2 separate regions of the Homo sapiens genome follow, and region 1 is linked to region 2. The links are contacts of gene promoters, found by promoter capture Hi-C in blood cells and fetal thymus (Javierre and others, 2016). All regions are on one chromosome and are shown on one strand. The core of a region is centred on a gene start or on the middle of the fragment in contact, and the rest is flanking DNA. Distances in the headings are between cores, read along the strand shown.

Region 1 (5,493 bases), core at 2,303-4,802, 950 kb after region 2:
TTACTGTTCTCTTAGGCAGAACTTGCCCATATTTCACTTACCAAGGAGTATTTGGAAAGTTTGTCTCAGAATAAAAACCAGTGATTCCCTCGACTCAGCAGCAAAGGCATCCAATGTTTCACCCAAGCTAAACTTTGGCTATTACTCCAGCATAAAAAGCACTTGTCTAGGATGAGTCTGCATATGTCCATCCTGGTCTTGAGCTAATGCGACATGAACAGTTTGACCAAAGATGAGCTTGAGACTGGCCAGACATGTGACCTAATGGAAGATAATTATTGTACACATACACCTGTAACTGCCCTTGAATAATGAATCAGTCTTGACGGAAATAAAGCCTAGCAACAGCAAAGGACCCAATGCACGGGAAAACTCGCTGGTGTCCATTTGACTTAGGCTGAGAGAAACATGCTGAACTCCCAGCTGTCAGTTTGTCACCTGCCGTGTAATATTTCAGTGACTATTTTGCTTTGTCCAAGACTCCATAGGATTTGAGTGCATAGGTAAAGACCCTCCCTGGTGATAGAAGCTTCTTCCAGTAGATACTCAGTCACAACCATGATTCAGAGGGGCTTTCTTGATGTCTTAAATTTCAACACGTGGAATTGCATTTTAAAGTTTTTTGCTTATGATCAGGTACTAAGTGGATTGACTGCATTTTGTCAACTTTACTGGTAGTAGGCATGTCCCTAGTTATATGGGGACATGTACAATTTGAACTAATAGATCTGTTAGCTCATAAGAAATCAGAGTTCTCACAAATGCTAGCTGTTGCTTGCTATTCTATTCTCCACCCACCCCCACCATTTGTAGGAGCTGGGTATCTTTAGCATGTCTTTCAAAGATTTCTATACCTCTCACAGGGTTGAGAAAGACTTGTCAGATCAATAGATGAGACACATTCCCAGATGAACTTGGAAGTAGAACTATAAACAATGCCATGGGTATCCCCAAACCTATGCAACATTGTTTTGAACCAACACAGCCTCTACAGGTTGAGGAAGCCACACTTATTGGTATACTTCATAGTGAATTCCCCACTGCTGTGCAGTTTCTGCTCAAATTTCTACTAGGTGGTTTCACGTCACTTCCAGTTACCATGCTTCTGGTCAATTTGGGGTGGATTTTTAAGAACACTCTGGTTCCATATATAGCCATCTCTTTGGGTTCTCTCAGCATTCTGGTTCTATTTTCATGTTCATACTAGTTACTTTTGCCTAATCTTATACCACTTCCCACCCACCTCTTGTCATCTTTTAAGGTTCTATTTCCCTATCCTTAATTCTTACTGCTTTGCTTTAAGGTTGTTGGGTAGTGAGCTGATTTCCTCTTAATGTCGCAGGCATTTAAGACCATATACATACTGATTCATGAATGTATAGGACCATGGTGACTATGAACAGACCAGTCATGACTCAACTTGCAAAATACCTATGAATGTGGACAAGGAATAGTATGTACAAGAGTCACCCAGACTTGACTTCATGCCATTGTTCTGAATGCTCTCATATTGGTTCACTTATAGGAGTAACTACCTCAGGGTTTTATTTTATAGAGAAAAACTGAGGCTCAGTGTCACCCTCACAATCTCTCAAACCTAGGAAATTGTTCACTTTAGGTTGTTTTGAAGTCTTTCCATATACTACTCCTCTTACAGTGACTTGCTATAGCTTGCCTTGAGAACAAACGTCTCACTTTAATGCTTTATGGTTAAGGGTCAGGTATAACTCGGATCAATAAGCTAAACCTCTAAAATCAAATAGTCGGGTGGATGTCATTCTTACCTTGCTCAACAGGAAGCTAGATGTCTTAAGACCACTCATGCTACAGGAAATGATTGTTTCCCTGTGCTTACCTGGCTCTTGAGTACACTGACTCAAATGTCAACGTGGTGGGTAACATGGGGCTTCTATGAAAAGCTTTTGGTGTGGCAGGGTGTAATGGGTTAAATGTCCTGAGCTTAGTCATGTACTTGATTGTCTATGACTAAATGACCAAATAGACATAAAAAGGGTGGAGTAAATCTGTCATAATTTACAGCATATCTTGCTGTTCTTTTTTTCTCCCTTTTCTCTTGGCCTGTGGCTTAACTGCACCTAACATCTCTCGGGAGTGCCTTAATAAAACCAGTTAAGGACTGCTTGTTTTATACAAGCAATGTATTCATATACCTTCCTGTTAACAGTAAAAATCTAGACTAGCGTAACAATACTTGTCTGATTAGTGAGGCAATTAGTATGTCACCTGACAAACCAGAACTGATAGAAATCTTATTTGGAGGTGTTACCATAATCAGTTTCTATTTAACCTGACATACCTGAGAAAGCATTTATGGGCCGGATCTGCCAGGAATATGACATCTCAACTACTCTGTCCTTGGTGGTTATCACCTATATGATAATCTGAAGCTAAACCTGCACAAGGTCTTCCTTATACAAAGTGTATTGGGACCTGAACCCCAGGTTTGGGTCCACAGCCAGATAACTAGTTCTGCAAGAAGAGGTGTTAGTATGGTTGTGAAAACACCTTCCCCATCCCCTGACTCACCTTCCTGTCAACTGCTTCCTACTGGAATTCCTCATGAATAGGTGGTTAACACCTTGTACTTTGTCCTAAACAACCCAGTTTTGTCTCACTCACCCCGTCTTCCTCTCCAGCTTGTTCAAGTCTCTTGTTCAAGTCATTCCACTTCAGGCCTGTTAAGACTACTTCTCTTGACACAAATCTCCAACCCACAGACTTTCTCATTCCAGCTGTTGCCTTTATTGACTTTATTTCCTTGTTATAGTATCTTTCATTTATTTAACCCCATGGCTTTTTTTCTGGTAAATCTCAACCCTTCGTGAATCCCAAATGTCTTAGTCCTAATACTAGAAAGATAAGGCTTGGCTGAGTTAGACTATGGTAGAACCATGTCTCTAAACTTATCACTGACTTCTGATGTATCTTTCCAACTCCCAAATTTCGCAGAGGGGAGAGAAGCTAGAAAAACAGGGTTGTTGGGCAATCTTGGTAAACTTGGGCCCTTCTAAACATGTAGCTTTTGTTTTATTCTTGTAACAAGTTTTTCCTTGCTTTCAGGTTATAAACGAGTGAGTAAAACATGAGATAATGTCCAGAACTCAGTGTAGCAGGAGTTGATTGATTTGCTCTGGTCTCATATGCTCACCAATTCCTCCACATTAAACCCACCAAATTAAGTAGCTGCCCTACTCTAAAATGGTTCCACCTACTGACTCCTTGTTCCTTTCTGAAATAGTCCTGGTGTCTCTGATTGCTAGAGGCTAAGTCCTGTGACTGTGTCCCTAGCAGCAGCAGGGACTCTGGGAGAGAGCCCTTGGGATAATGGGTCTCGATGGGAGAAACCCCTCAAACTGGGGTCATGAGGCCTTCCAATGTGACAAAGTTCCACAACTATGCTGAACTGGTCCTAAGAAAAGCTTACATGACTGCATGTCTAACCAGCATAGCAGATAGCCATGGCTCACCTGTGCTCTTGAAGACAGTATGAAATTGAGACCAAGTAGCTTACTCTACTCGACTCTGAGTAAATGTTTCAACGGTGTCTATGCTGCTGTGGTAAAGCATTCACTCCAAACGGGGAGCATCCTTACGTCCAGCTCACTTTTCAAGAGTTAGCAAAGTCATGGCTTTGCAACTCAGTCAAGCTTTTATGGTTACTAAGCGCCCCCTGTTGATGGCAGTTTAAAACTGGTTGTGCCCCATGCTTCAAAGTGGCAAGACCCCGTGTGTCTAATTCCTGAAACAGTCCAAGGCTCCAAACATGAGGGCAGGCCCCGTTAGGTCCTCTCTGGCAGCTTTTGCTTCACCCTTGCTTCATTGTTTGGGCCTCTTGCCTCTTCTCCTAAGATGGCTTCTAGGGTTGGCATTATCAACACAATCCCTCCATTCCTTCCACACAAGGCTAATTGCTTTGTTCTCATTTGCTCAAGGTATATGAGAATAAACATAGCTGCAAATCTTGAGCTGGTTTTGAGAAACCTGTTTCCCTAAACACCTTCTTGTGCTTGGATGGAAGGCTTAGGACCTTAGCCTAGTGCCTAGAAATGGCTGATCTTCTAGTGAGTTAATAGGTCTCAACTACAGTTAAAGTTAAAATGACCCCGACTAGCTTTTGAGACTACCTAAAGGACCCATTTGGTTCTGATCTGCCATGGACCAATACTTTGTAAAACACAATAAATAGAAAATGCCAAATTTTGTTAAACCCACACCCTAGCAAACAAAGGGGAAGAAATACATGGTTCGTTGGAAGAACATACAGGTGACAGGTGACGACTACAAATGTACAATGATAGTTATCTAGAGGTAACTGAGGTACATGTTAATGTTCTTGTACAGAATGACTATTGTGCATATAGTGCTTAATGTACTGAGTTCTTCATGTGACAAATAAGCTTGTTTAACCTACTGAATCTAGGTTGGAGTGATAGCAATGCTACTCAGAGGAAAACAACCAAAAGGCTTTGTTTTAATAGCTTTCACAGCAGAGGCCAATCTCACATCCCTCAGAAGTATGTTGACCAGAACAGAAGAATTTAAAGCTATTGTAGCAGAATTGGGGTATATTTAACTTTTAAAATGAAGTAATGCTTTATTTTAAACTCATCTCTAATCCTTCATCACCATCTAGTTACAATGGCTTATCTTAGAAGGCTACAGTTATCTTCCTGAAAAGCAAATGGATTCCAGATGTGAATTTTTCCTATACATAAATCTTTTGATGGAAAGCAAAATCCAATGTTCTAATTCAAAAGGTATGTCTTGTAGATGTGCAATATCAACTACTGATTTATACCATGTGAAGTTATGTAACTTCTATTTTTGAAACACTTAAGTTATCTAGTCTCTGCTTTTCTCTATCTCTTCAATATTACCCAAGGGAAAAGAACCTGGATGGGTTAATGAGACTAGGAACAACTCATGGCACATATGTAGTTAACCCTTCTAGAGAGAACTGCCCTCATGAGTTTTATGGTACTTGTTTTACTTCATGAATGTATATGGAAGGATTGCTCACTGAGTGGGCTTACGTTACTCAATGGTAGAAGACTTGCTCAGCCTAGTTCGGGGGCCCACTTCCAGCTTTGGTCCTCTGATTCAGTGAAACAAAGCTTGTCTGATCTTGATTTCAGGTGTAGTTCCCAATTACTTTCAGAACCCCATGGGGAAAGTGAGGTGAATGGTACCTCAGACACTTAAGCCCTGAATTTCTATGGCAGTCTTGCTGTGGCACACTACCTGCATATTGCTGATGGCCTCATATCCAGGGCTCCACACTGGCATGTAAAAGGTACAGGCCAGTCTGAGGGTCTTCAAAGGCTTTCTAGGTTCCCTGAAAGTGTGGCATTAGGAGCAACAGGATCAGACTCCCCCCGCCCCCAGCCGCCCCCTCCTCCCCTACCCCGCCACGGAGAGGAGTACCACTATCAGGGCAAGACAAACGTGGAACTCGGCCAGGTCCTGCTCCGT
Region 2 (5,809 bases), core at 2,114-4,613:
GTCCCTATGTTTTATTCTAAGAAGTTTGTAGTTTTAGCTCTTAAATTTAGGTCTCTAAGCTGTTTTGAGTTGATTTTTGTATACAGTATAAGGGCCCAACTTCATTATTTTGCATGTAGGTAGGATTTCTCCAAGACTTAGGGTAGGGATCTTGTCCATCTTGTTCCTAGTACTGTGCCTGACACACATTATATACTCATTCAACAACTATTGATTTGTTATATACCATACTAGGCACTGGAGATGCAATGGAGAAGAAAACAGACCTGATCCTCGTCACCTTGGTACTTTGTTGCTAGTGTTTGCTGAATAAATAAATAAGAAACCATCTATTTTCATGACATCTGCATCATCACAAGTTGATAATTGCTCTATATGGTAATTTTGACTCCATACATTGCATACCATAATTGTAGTCATTACTTAGAGAATCTCTCAGTCTCTCTCTCTCTCTCTCTCAACTCAAAGGTGAAATGTATTAAATACAGTAATCAAGTGAGTATATGTTATTTAAGAATGAGGTTGGTGATTTTCCAGGTGTTTATTTCTAGACTTTTTGCCAGGTAAGCTGGCCATTTCATTCCCAAAAGGATTATTCAAATATATAAAATAGTATTTTCAAACACTATTATATATTCCAGAAAAACAAGCATTTGAATAACAAAAACAATAGAACTTAGCAAACATGGTGAAACTCCCATCTCTATTAAAAATACAAAAATTAGCCCGGCATGGTGGTACGTGCCTGTAATCCTAGCTACTCGGGAAGCTGAGGCAGGAGGATCGCTTGAACCCAGGAGGTGGAGGTTGCAGTGAGCTGAGATCACACCACTGCACACCAGCCTGGGCAACAGAGTGAGACTCTGTCTCAAAAAAGAAAACAAAACAAAACAAAAAAATAGAACTTTAAGGTGAGAAATGGGAAAGCAGTCCTGAATTGGTAGAAACCCTAGGCATATGGACAAATTGTTTATTTATTATTTGTTTGTTTATTTAAGAGTGATAATTTGCCAACATATTATTTTGCTAAATATTTTTAAAAGGATTATTGCAGCTGTAGAAAATATATAGAAAGCCATCTTAGGAAACTCTACCTCTTGCTTGCTGATATATAAATTGTAGTCAGCTTTTTCTTCTTTTTGTCACAACCTTTGGAGATTCCGGTAAAATGCCTCCTTCAGAATATTTCTGGGCATCCGTTATTTGTTTATTTATTTATTTTTTTTTTGGTTACATGAGTAAGTTCTCCAGTGGCAATTTCTGAGATTTTGGTGCACCCATCACCCAAGCAGTGTACCCTGTACCCAATGTGTAGTCTTTTATCTCTTGTCCCCGTCCTATCCTTCCCCCCAAGTTCCCAAAGTCCATTTTATCATTCTTACACCTTTGCATCCCCATAGCTTAGCTCCTACTTATGAGTGAGAATGTACAATGTTTGGTTTTCCATTCCTTAGTTACTTCAGTTAGAATAATGGTCTCCAGTTCCATCCAAGTTGCTACTAATGCCATTATTTCATTCCTTTTTATGGCTGAATGTTATTCCATTATATATATGTGTATATATACACATATATACCACAATTTCTCTATCCACTCATCGATTGATGGGCATTTGGGCTGGTTCCATAGTTTTGCAACTGCAAATTGTGCTGCTATTAACATGTGTGTGCAAGTATCTTTTTTGTATAATGACTTTTCTTCCTCTGGGTAGATACCCAGGTAGTGGGACTGCTGGATGAAATGGTAGATCCACTTTTAGTTCTTTAAGGAATCTCCACACTGTTTTCCATAGTGGTTTTACTAGTTTACATTCCCACCAGCAGCGTAAAAGTGTTCTCTTTTCCCCACATCCACACCAACATCTAATTTTTTAAATTTTTTGATTATGGCCAGTTTTGCTGGAGTAAGGTGGTATTACATTGTGGTTTTGATTTGCATTTCCCTTATAATTAGTGATATCTAGCCTTTTTTCATATGTTTGTTCACCATTTTTATATCTTCTTTTGAGAATTGTCTATTCATGTCCTTAGCCCATTTGTTGATGGGATTGCTTGTTTTTTTCTTGCTGGCTTGTTTGAGTTCCTTGTAGATTCTGAATATTAGTCCTTTGTTGGATATATAGATTGCAAAGATTTTTCCCACTCTGTGGGCTGTTTACTCTGCTGATTATTTCTTTTGCTGTGTAGAAGCTTTTTAGTTTAATCAAGCATTGTTTGGGCAAATTGTTACAAATCATTCCTGCAGGACTCCATTCAGCCTAGATAACCATACTTTTGGCCCAGTTCTCACAGAATTTCTACAGAAACCCTACCTCCTCAAAGTAATAAAAAGTTTGCATTACAATCGGACTAATATCAAAGAAAATAAAAATAACAATTGGGCTAATTATAATGATTACCTACATAGCTTTCTCCATTAACTAACTCACAACAGCTCTGTTAAGTAGTCAGGACAAATATTACCACCCCCGGTTCACAGCTGGAATAATAGTACTTGCATAATAATAATTCTTGAGGGATTCTTAAATGCTGGCACTGTGTTAATTTCTTTATATTCATCGAATATCCCCAATAACCCTACAGGTAGATACTATTATTTTCCCCATTTTCAGGCCAGGTAATTAATGAAGCTTAAAAATGTAAGTACCCTGCCCCCAGGAGTGCATAATTATTAAGTAGCAGAACCAATGCTTATATTTAAATCAGAAACACTCAGAAGTAGCATAAGAATTTAGTAAAAACGAAACACACCCTCGTGCAATCCGTATTATGTGGCCACGTGCCTACCAGGGTCAGCTGGATGGTACTTGTCTGCTAGAAGTGAGTCGAGGCAGAAGAATCAACACAGGAGCTGGAAGGGCCTCTGGAAATCAGCTGGGGACTAGAGACAGGTGTGCAGCCCTCGGTTTACAGAGGCTGTGAGACCAAGAGAGTTCCAAGACCTCCAGGAAAACATCTCCCTGCTAAAAGGCTTTCCCAACCTTTAGAAATCTATTCATTTTCCCCACTTTCCATCCTCTTTCTCTTGCTATCTCTTTATCGCTCCTCCTGCCTTCTTCCTTTCTTTCCTTCAGTAAACGTTTTTTGAAACGATGATGAGCAAAAAACGCCTGATCCAGTCTATGGCGCGTTTCGGTGGGAAGATGAACACGCCTTCCCAGCAGAGTAAAACGTGATTACACCAAGGACCGGTACCCTCTCCCTTCCCTCGGCCAGGTCCACGTCCCCAGGCGTCGGAGAAGGGGTTGGACCGCGCAGCGGGGCGTCAGAGTTGCCAGGCGCCCGGGGCAAATACCGGCAGCGGTGGTTGTGCGGTGTCCTAGCAACGGGGCGGCAGCAGGGCACACACACCGCCCAAGCCCGGACGGTGGCCGCGAAGCTAGGGCCACCATGGCGGACCGCAGGCGGCGGCTCCGGCCGGGGACGTTGGCCCCGGTGCGCGAGGGCGTGAACTGCAGGTCCAGGTAAACACTCAGCGCCCGGGCCGAGGGCGCATCCCACGCGGGCCGCGCGGGGGCGCCTGGAGACCCGCGCTTGCTGGGGCGGGGGCGAGGGGAGAGGTCCAGCCTGCCTTCCCTCCTCAATGCTTCCTGTACGTACAACATAATACGCTGAGATAACCAACGCTTGGCGCTGCTCTTTGCAAAGGATTTTTCCTGCTGTCATCCTCACAACCCCCGCCTCCCACGCCCCCAGGGATGTAGACTAATATCCCCATTTCTGATGGGAAAGTGATGGCCGCAGAGTCCGCTGCGGAGGCTGGTGCCCTCCTGCTAGCCACCCACCCTTTTCCGGCCTAGCCAACCAACTGTTCGCCAGATGCCCCGGGGCGCCTGGAGCCCTGTATCCGATGTTAGGCATCTGCTGCCCCTGGAGCCTTTGGTATCCAGATGGCGGCTGTGGCCAAGTGGAGCCCAGGGTTGGGGGAGCGCCTGGGGTGCTAGGGAGGTCTGCTAACATTTTGTACGGTTGTGGTAGCCTCAGAGCAGGAACAAGAAGGTTTTTGCCTTTACCGACTCCTTGACAATCTTTTGAGAATGGAATTCGTCTGTCTTGGAGACAGCACGATGTGGTGGTGAAGATTCCAAAGTCTAGAATCAGAAAGGCTTGAGTAGAAGGCTAGTTCTCCTCTTGTTTGCCTGGTGACCTTAGGCAAGTTGGTTGCTCCTTCTGGGCTCACTTTCCTAACTATAAAATGGGGCAATAACTTAGGAATCAGCTTTCTAAGATTGTCGTGAGGATTAATGGAGATAGCACATGTAAAGTTGTCACTGGCACATAGAACGTATCGTGTACATGTTAGCAATTATTCATAGTTGTTTCTAGCAGTTATTCATAAGAGCTTCTTTGGGAAGCTTCTCCCCCCCATTTAAAAATTTTGTTTTGAAATAACTGTAGGCTCACCAGAAGTTGCAGAAATAGTACAGAGGTCCCATGTACCCTTCCCCTAGCTGCTTACAGTGGTACCATTTTACATAACGATAGCACATTGCCAAACCAGGAAACGTCATTGGCAGAATATGCTAATTGAACTAGAGACCTTACTTGGATTTTATCAGCTCTTACTTGCACTCAGGTGTGTGAGTTCTGTAACATTTGGTCATATGTATACATAAAGATACAAAACTGTTCCTTCCCCACAGAGGAACTCTTAGTATTACCCCTTTGCTGTCACTTCTTTTCCCACCCCAGCCTTGTCAATCGCTAAGCTGCTCTCCATTTCTGTAAGTTAGTTCTTTTGAGAATGTTAGATAAACAGAATAATACAGTATGTAACTGTTTGAGACTGGCTCTTTTTCACTCATCATAAAGCCTCTGAGATCCATCCAAGTTGTGTGTATCAGTAGTTCATTTTTGTTGCTGAGTCGTGTTCCTTGGTGTGGATGTACCACAGTTTGTTTATCCATTCACTTGTTGAAGGACATTCAGGTTGTTTTGGACATTCCAGTTTTGGGGCTAATATGTAGAAAGCTGCTATCGACATTTGTGTACAGAATTTTCTGAGAACATACTTTTTCATTTCTTTAGGATACATGTCCGGTATCCTTTTGCAATTCTTAAAGAGGGAAATATCCATATATCATGTACTAGTGTCTGTGAAAACAGTAAATATTTAGAAAAATTGTTTCCAGTTTTATTTTATGGGCCAAGCAAGATTTTTCCTGAACCTAACATAATGCAGAATGGTAAGCTTATTAACTATGAGAGGCCATGTGGGGGAGAGGAAAGCCCTCCCTTTACACTGGTTGCCTTACTCTCCTCTTGGAACTTAGTTTCCTTATTAAAAAGAGGAAAGCGGTAGCCAGGCATGGTGGCACATGCCTGTAGTCCCAGCTACTCAAGAGGCTGAGGTGGAGGGATTACTTGAGTCTGAGAGGCAGAGGTTGCAGTGAGCCAAGATTACACCATTGCACTCCAGCCTGGGTAACAGAGTGGAACCCTGTCTCGAATTAAAAAAAAAAAAGAAAGGAAAGAAATGAGGAAAGTGGCTCGCGCCTGTAATCCCAACACTTTGGGAAGCGGAGGCAGGAGGATCACTTGAACCCGAAGTTTGAGACCAGCCTGGGCAACATAGCAAGACCCTGTCTCCTCTCTCTACAAAAGCAATTTAAAAATTTAGCTAGGCATGGTGCCGCACACCTGTAGTCCCAACTACTTGGGGGACTGAGATTGGAGGATCCCTTGAGCCCAGGAGTTTGAGGCTGCAGTGAGCTATTGAGCTATAATTGCCACTGTACCCTAGCTTGAGCAACAGAGTGAGACCCTGTCTTGAAAAAAAAAAAAAAAACAGAAAAAGAAAAGTGAAGAAA

The links. The method cuts DNA at HindIII sites, captures the fragments that hold promoters and counts their contacts. A CHiCAGO score of 5 or more calls a contact.
Region 1: a fragment that was not itself captured here is called in contact with the fragment with the promoter of FAM47E in region 2 in 1 of 17 cell types (total CD4 T cells); the score reaches 5.6 in total CD4 T cells.

What each region holds. Positions count from the first base shown.
Region 1 is chr4:77,200,105-77,205,597 of GRCh38, forward strand. No RefSeq gene overlaps it. Among named protein-coding and RNA genes, the nearest start is that of CCNG2, 46 kb to the left of the region's middle. The HindIII fragment of the contact is 228 bases long and covers 3,439-3,666 here.
Region 2 is chr4:76,248,358-76,254,166 of GRCh38, forward strand. It overlaps FAM47E (family with sequence similarity 47 member E), which reads left to right and starts at 3,364. Exons shown (of 8, transcript NM_001136570.3): 1 at 3,364-3,463. The coding sequence starts at 3,390. FAM47E-STBD1 (FAM47E-STBD1 readthrough) reads left to right here and starts at 3,364. Exons shown (of 7, transcript NM_001242939.2): 1 at 3,364-3,463. The coding sequence starts at 3,390. LOC105377286 (a long non-coding RNA gene) reads right to left here and starts at 3,320. Exons shown (of 3, transcript XR_938897.4): 1 at 2,751-3,320. The HindIII fragment of the contact is 1,725 bases long and covers 2,628-4,352 here.